Regions from separate parts of the Homo sapiens genome. Here region 2 is linked to region 1. The links are contacts of gene promoters, found by promoter capture Hi-C in human tissues and cell types (Jung and others, 2019). All regions are on one chromosome and are shown on one strand. The core of a region is centred on a gene start or on the middle of the fragment in contact, and the rest is flanking DNA. Distances in the headings are between cores, read along the strand shown.

The links. Contacts are between HindIII fragments. The study calls those that stand out against the background at their distance.
Region 2: a contact is called between a fragment that was not itself captured here and the fragment with the promoter of SLC24A3 in region 1, in 2 of the 25 tissues and cell types used here (bladder and pancreas).

The regions. Positions count from the first base shown.
Region 1 is chr20:19,211,249-19,213,995 of GRCh38, forward strand. SLC24A3 (solute carrier family 24 member 3) reads left to right here and starts at 1,394. Exons shown (of 17, transcript NM_020689.4): 1 at 1,394-1,736. The coding sequence starts at 1,595. It overlaps LOC101929547 (a long non-coding RNA gene), which reads right to left and starts at 1,220. Exons shown (of 3, transcript XR_007067549.1): 1 at 381-1,220. RefSeq lists a silencer at 1,745-1,794. The HindIII fragment of the contact is 12,474 bases long and covers 1-2,747 here.
Region 2 is chr20:19,308,921-19,311,791 of GRCh38, forward strand. All of the region lies in intron 2 of SLC24A3 (solute carrier family 24 member 3), which reads left to right. Among named protein-coding and RNA genes, the nearest start is that of SLC24A3-AS1, 26 kb to the left of the region's middle. The HindIII fragment of the contact is 4,933 bases long and covers 1-2,871 here.

The sequences.
Region 1 (2,747 bases), core at 144-2,643:
AAGCTAGATTCCCTGATCTGAATGGATTCCATGGAGACAGTCACCTAGACAGACACCTGGTTTCAGGTGATCCCTTTCTGGACAAGGTCTTTTGTTTTCAGCGCCCCCCCACCCTCCGCCCCAACAATGGCATCTCCTCCTCAGCCCAGCCAGCAGCCCCAGGCTAGCATCTGGGAAGAGTCCAGGGAAGCCCAATGAGGGAGAGTGGGCTGTGTCTGGGATGGCCAGGGATCCCCTCCAAATGGGCACCTGCGGCAGGTCGTGAGTCCAGCCATCTCTAGGGCAGCCCACACCTTCAGCAAGGAGGGGCAGGAGACCTAGAATGGGGGAAATGGGAGGACTAAGATTCTAACGTTGGAGGTAGGGCAGGCTGGTGTTACCTGCACAAGGCCAGAAGCCTCTTCAGGCCGCCTCTCCAGGGACCGTGCCAGCTGTCCCCACTTCGATCAGCCACAGTATTGGACTTGGTCCAGCACGAACAGAAAGCGAAGTGTGAGCCCAAGACAGAGGGGGGAGCCGGACACCCTTATGGAACTAACAGCCTCTGGGGAGGCCTGTTCCAGATCCCGAGTCGGGCGCACAGGGGGATCCCCGCAAGGGGGCAGAGGGAAACCCGGGAGGCCCGCGAGAAGAGGCGAGGCCAGAGGCTGGGCGCGGGCAGCCAAGCGCACTCGCGGCGCCCCGACTCCAGGTAGCACGTAGAGAGGAGGCTGAAGAGCCCCTCGGTTTTCCGAAAGTTTCCAGCGAATCCTTCTTGGTGAAGATCGGCCTCTGGGAGGCAGCGTGTGTGCTTCCCGAGAGGGGGCCCCCTGCGCCGTCCCTCTTCCCCTGGCACAGAAGGGTTGAAGGACTGCACACAGGGATCCCTCCCCAGCCCAGTCTCCTCCCAGCGCGCCCCCTCCCCGCCATGCCGGCCAGCGCCGGGCTGTGTCCCAGGCACTGCCCCCCGCCAACCCTGGCCCGACCAGCCTCGCCGCTGCAGGCTGCCGGGAGCTGCGCTAGCTCATGCTCCCAGCTCGCTCGGTGCTCCCTGTTCGCTCCGGCCCGGCCCCGGCCCCCATCGCGCCGACCATGGAATAGGCGGGCGGCCCCGCGAGGCGCTCCTGCAGCCGGCGAGGCCAGAGCCAGTCCGGGGTGGCTTTGCCAACCGGCGGAGTTGGCCAGCGGCGGGCCCTCCTACCGTCGGTCCTTCCCCGCTCCTCCTCCTCTGCCCCCTCCGCCCCCGCCTCCCGGCCGCCCCCGCCGCCCCCGCCGCGCCGCCGCCCCAGGCCGAGCGCGGGCGCGGAGCGTGGGAGCCATGGCGCGCGAGGAGGAGCGGGACCCCGAGCGCCGGGAGGCGGCGGCGCGGGCGAGCGGCGAGGAGGAGGAGGAGGGAGGGGAGGAGGGACTGGGCGATAGCGACGAGGAGGGCGACGACGAGGAGACGGGCAGCGGCGAGGAGGAGGAAGAGGAGGCGGAGGCGGCGGCCGGGTGGGAGCGCAGCGAGGACGCGCGGCTGCTGCGCGCAGGGCTGCCTCCTGCCGCTGTCCCCGCCGCGGCCGCCCGCGACAGGAGCGGCCGCCGCCCGCCGAGGCCGCCGCCCGGCCGCCCGAGGATGCGGCCGTCCGGCGACGAGGACCGCGCGCGTCGCCGCCGCCGCCGCCGCCGCCGGAGGGACCTTCTGCTGAGCCAGCTCTGCTTCCTGGCCTCGGTGGCGCTGCTGCTCTGGTCGCTGTCGAGCCTGCGAGAGCAGAAGGGTGAGTGCACGCTGCCTGCCCCGAGTGGGCGCTGCGGCTCCGGCGGCTCGGGGCTCCCGGGGCTGGGCGCGGGGCTCCTTCGGGCGGCCCGGCCGGAGCCCCAGGATAAGCGGGCTGGGTTGGCGGGGGGAGTGGGATGCCAGGCACGAGGACTCCCCCTGCCCCACGCAGAGGCATGGAGGTGGGGACCCTGAGCGCCAGCAGCCAGCAGGCTTAGGCGTCTGGCCGCCCTGGGAACATTTACCTGTGCCCGCCTGTGCGCTGCTTACTCGCGAGCTGGAGGTACTGCTGGTGGCGGTGGTGGGGAGTCTTACTCTCCATCAGCCCCCAAGGCCAGGGATAAAGTTGTGGTGGTAGACCCGGCACCTGTGCAGGTGACCACCTGTATACTCCTTGGCTTGCTGAAGGATTCAAGGGGACTGCTTAACACACAGTTGTCCGTATGTTCTCCATCCAGAGAGCAGGCGGGATGGCCCGAGTAGAGAGCTCTTCAACCCCCTTTCAGAACAGGTGCCGGGAACTTCAGGGAGAGAAAAAGTGTTGGCCCTCCAGCTATGGGCTAGTAGGGGACTTGTTCTCCTAAAATGACCACTCACTGGGAAGACAGGGAATTCTTCCTCAGAGGTCCCTTTTGCAGAGCTGCTGCTGTGGAAGAAATGGTTTGCAGTGGACCACGCATCACACTGTCCGCTCCTCTACCGGTGCTCTGCGCAAAGTCTGCCCTTTAACCCACAACTTTTGTCTTGTCTTTGTCCTTGGCCTTTCTTGAGCTGAAATAGATCTTGTGTGCTCCCAACAGTTGTCTGCTGAAACAGCTTCGATCCTGGGATTCAGCTGTCTATAAAATGAAGGAAAAACATGGGAGAATAACTGTTGTAAAATGGTTTTATATCCCGGCCGTGGAAGTGGCACGATTAGTGGGAAAACAGCCATGTAAAGGGTTGTGAGAAAGAAACAAAACAAAACAAAACAAACAAACAAAAAAACAGTTACAAGTATGTGCTGTGGTGT
Region 2 (2,871 bases), core at 185-2,684, 98 kb after region 1:
ATTTGATTGATATCTTTCTAAGTAAATTTAATACGTTCTTGTCTGTGAGTCACAGTGCACGGAATGTGGATTGGACATTCTAGTGATAAATTGAAGCCATGGATTCGTGGAGGACATATGTTATTTTACCGTCTTGTAATTCAGACCAGGGCCTCCTTTTTTGTTGTCACTGTGTCCACTGTCACTTCCACTACTTCCTAGGTTTGTCTACCTTTAAAACTTTCACACCCTCAGATCTTCTAAAGTTTCATCCCGACAGCAGATCTATGGTTAGAACATAAACTTTAGTGTCAGGCAGATCAGACTTGAAATCCAGTTCCTCTCATTTTCTTGCTGCAGAACTTGATCAGCTTTCCTAACTTCACTGAATATGGGCTTCCTCATCTATCAGATAAAGGATCTGTGCTTGACCTGATGACATTACCAGTTCATTAAATTAGCTAATGTATATTAAGGGCCAAACCAGGTGGTTAGCATGTTCTCTTGCCTTCTGCTACTCAGTGTGGTCCAGGGACCAGCCTGGAAGTGTCAACACCTCTTGGAAGCTTGTTAGAAATGTAGAATCTCATACTCCACCCAAACCTACCAGACCTATGGAATCAGAATCTGCATATTAACTAGCTCCCCAGGTGGTACCTATGCACACTGAATTTTGGAAAACGCTGGCCTAGAGCTTCTATTTTTTCTCCTCTTTGGGAGGGATAACAAGATGTTAACTTTAGTTTGTCAAAGCTTCAGTTTTCTGGAAGGATGAGGGGTTCTAAGCATCATGAGAAGTGGCCTTCAAAAAGAGAGTTGGAACTTTTTGCAAGCTTCTTCTCTGTGTGGCAGCTTAATTTGAGATGGCCCTTTATTGTTCATTTCTTACCCATCCACATACCAACATAGAATCATCATTTGGGGGAATGTGAAGACAAGGGACTCCTCCTTGCACCCTGGGAGAGCTGGGCTTCCAGTCTGTGCTCCAAGCTTTCACGCCCCAGGAGTGACTCTGGGTCATTGGGACAGGTCAGGGCGGCAAAGCATCACACTCTTCCTGCTATCAGTGTCCGACCAGCCTGAGTCCCCATCCTGCACAGTGAAAAGAGTCCAGCAGGCACAATGGGCCTGAGCAGAGCCGGACTTGACATTGGAGGCAGCCCTGGGAGATGGTGCCTGGTGTCTTCGTGGAGTTCATTCCATCTTCTGGCTACTTCACCTAGGTGTCATGACATCTAATAACTGATTTTTCATTTTCTTGAACCGATAGACCCTTGCTTTCACATTACCCCTTCTAACATGTTTCTGCCACATTCTAAACCCTTGCTACTCAGAGTGTGGCCTCAGGCCCAGAGGCATCAGCAAGACTGAGAGCTTATTGGCCACACAGAAGCTCAGCCCCCACCAGGAAAATGCACTGAGTCTGACCATGAATTTCAAAAGTTCCCAGGTGGTCATGTGCACAGAAGACTTGGACAAGTGCTGAGCTAGTGTATGTTCAGTAAATATTAATTTTCTCTTCCATTTTTAAACCTGGTGTATGAAATAAAAATCAATAAGGCTCTGAATGAGAGCTTGAGAAATGAGAAGCTCAATATCAGGGCAGGAATTCCATGAGGACTGTCTATTCTCTGGTCCAGGCCAGTTCTCTGGAAGGTCCGGGTTGCTTCAGGACTGACCTGCGGCTACCTGGGAAGGAAACTTACTGCTCCAGCCACTGTTCTTCCTCATAGATGTCTGCAGCCTATGAAGCCTTGCTGAGACAGTCATTATCTGTGCTGCAGTCATTCAGGGCAGCAAGCATATAAACAGAGCTTGATGCTGCCTTCAGCTTCCAGTTACATAACCTCACTTTGGAGTCATACTTTCCAGATGTTGTGTATGGACATGCTCCCTTCTTGCACTACCTGTTTCTTTAGCCACATTCAACTTTTGGGGGAAAGGTCTAAAGACAAGCTCCAAGGACAGCCAGCATGCTTTAAATCTGAAATAAAGCCTTTTTTGAGCTTATAATCATGTTTATTTGCTTTGCTGGAGTCTTTCTGAAAGCTTTTCATTTCTTTTTTATTCCCCCTCTATGTAATCTTCCTTCGTTCCTTTCTTCCTTCCTTGCTTCCATCCCTCCTTCCCTTTCCTTCCCTTTCCTTCCTTCCTTCTTGCCTTCCCTTCCTTTTTTCCTTCCTTGCCTTCCCTTCATTTTTTCCTTCCTTTCTTCCTTTAGTGGAGAAGCACAGTTTGGGGTCACTGGAGCTTGGGTTTTGGTTACTCATATGTGTGTAGAGACTTGAGTTCAGATTTGCGAGGAATTTGGGCATGAACCTAAACCTCATGTTCAAAGGCTCAAGGCTTCAAGAGAACCCCAGGCTTGCAGTCAGCAACTTTTGGCCAGCAGGGCCCGCGGATGGGTTCTCTGTATGTGGTGGATCATTCCAGGGCCCCACACAGGAAATCAGGATGAGGTCACTCAACAGCCCCATGCTCCTTCAGCTTTCATGCTGGTCCAGGCATTCTGCTAATGGTGGGAAGGTTTGGAGAAAGAAGAGATACAGTCCCAGCCCTCAGGGATCACATGCGGAAGGTAGTGGGGAGAGGAATCCAGCTACATCCACTCAGAGTGATCAATGCTGTACTACAGGTGTGCACGTTGGCCCCCACAGAGGGCCAGGATGGGGCCTCCCATCCTGGGAGGTGTGGGGTAAAGGAAGGCTTCCAGGAGGAGGCAGTGTTTGAGTCAACAAGTGTCCCCAAAGGAAAACAGTTAGATCAGATTTCACCAGGGAGGATGATGGTACTCATTTGAGGAGGTGGAAGCCATGAAGTCAAGATAGCCTGTTAGTAACAACAGTATGCAGCTCTCTTTTTTCCCCTATGGCCAGCAGGGAATTCATCTGC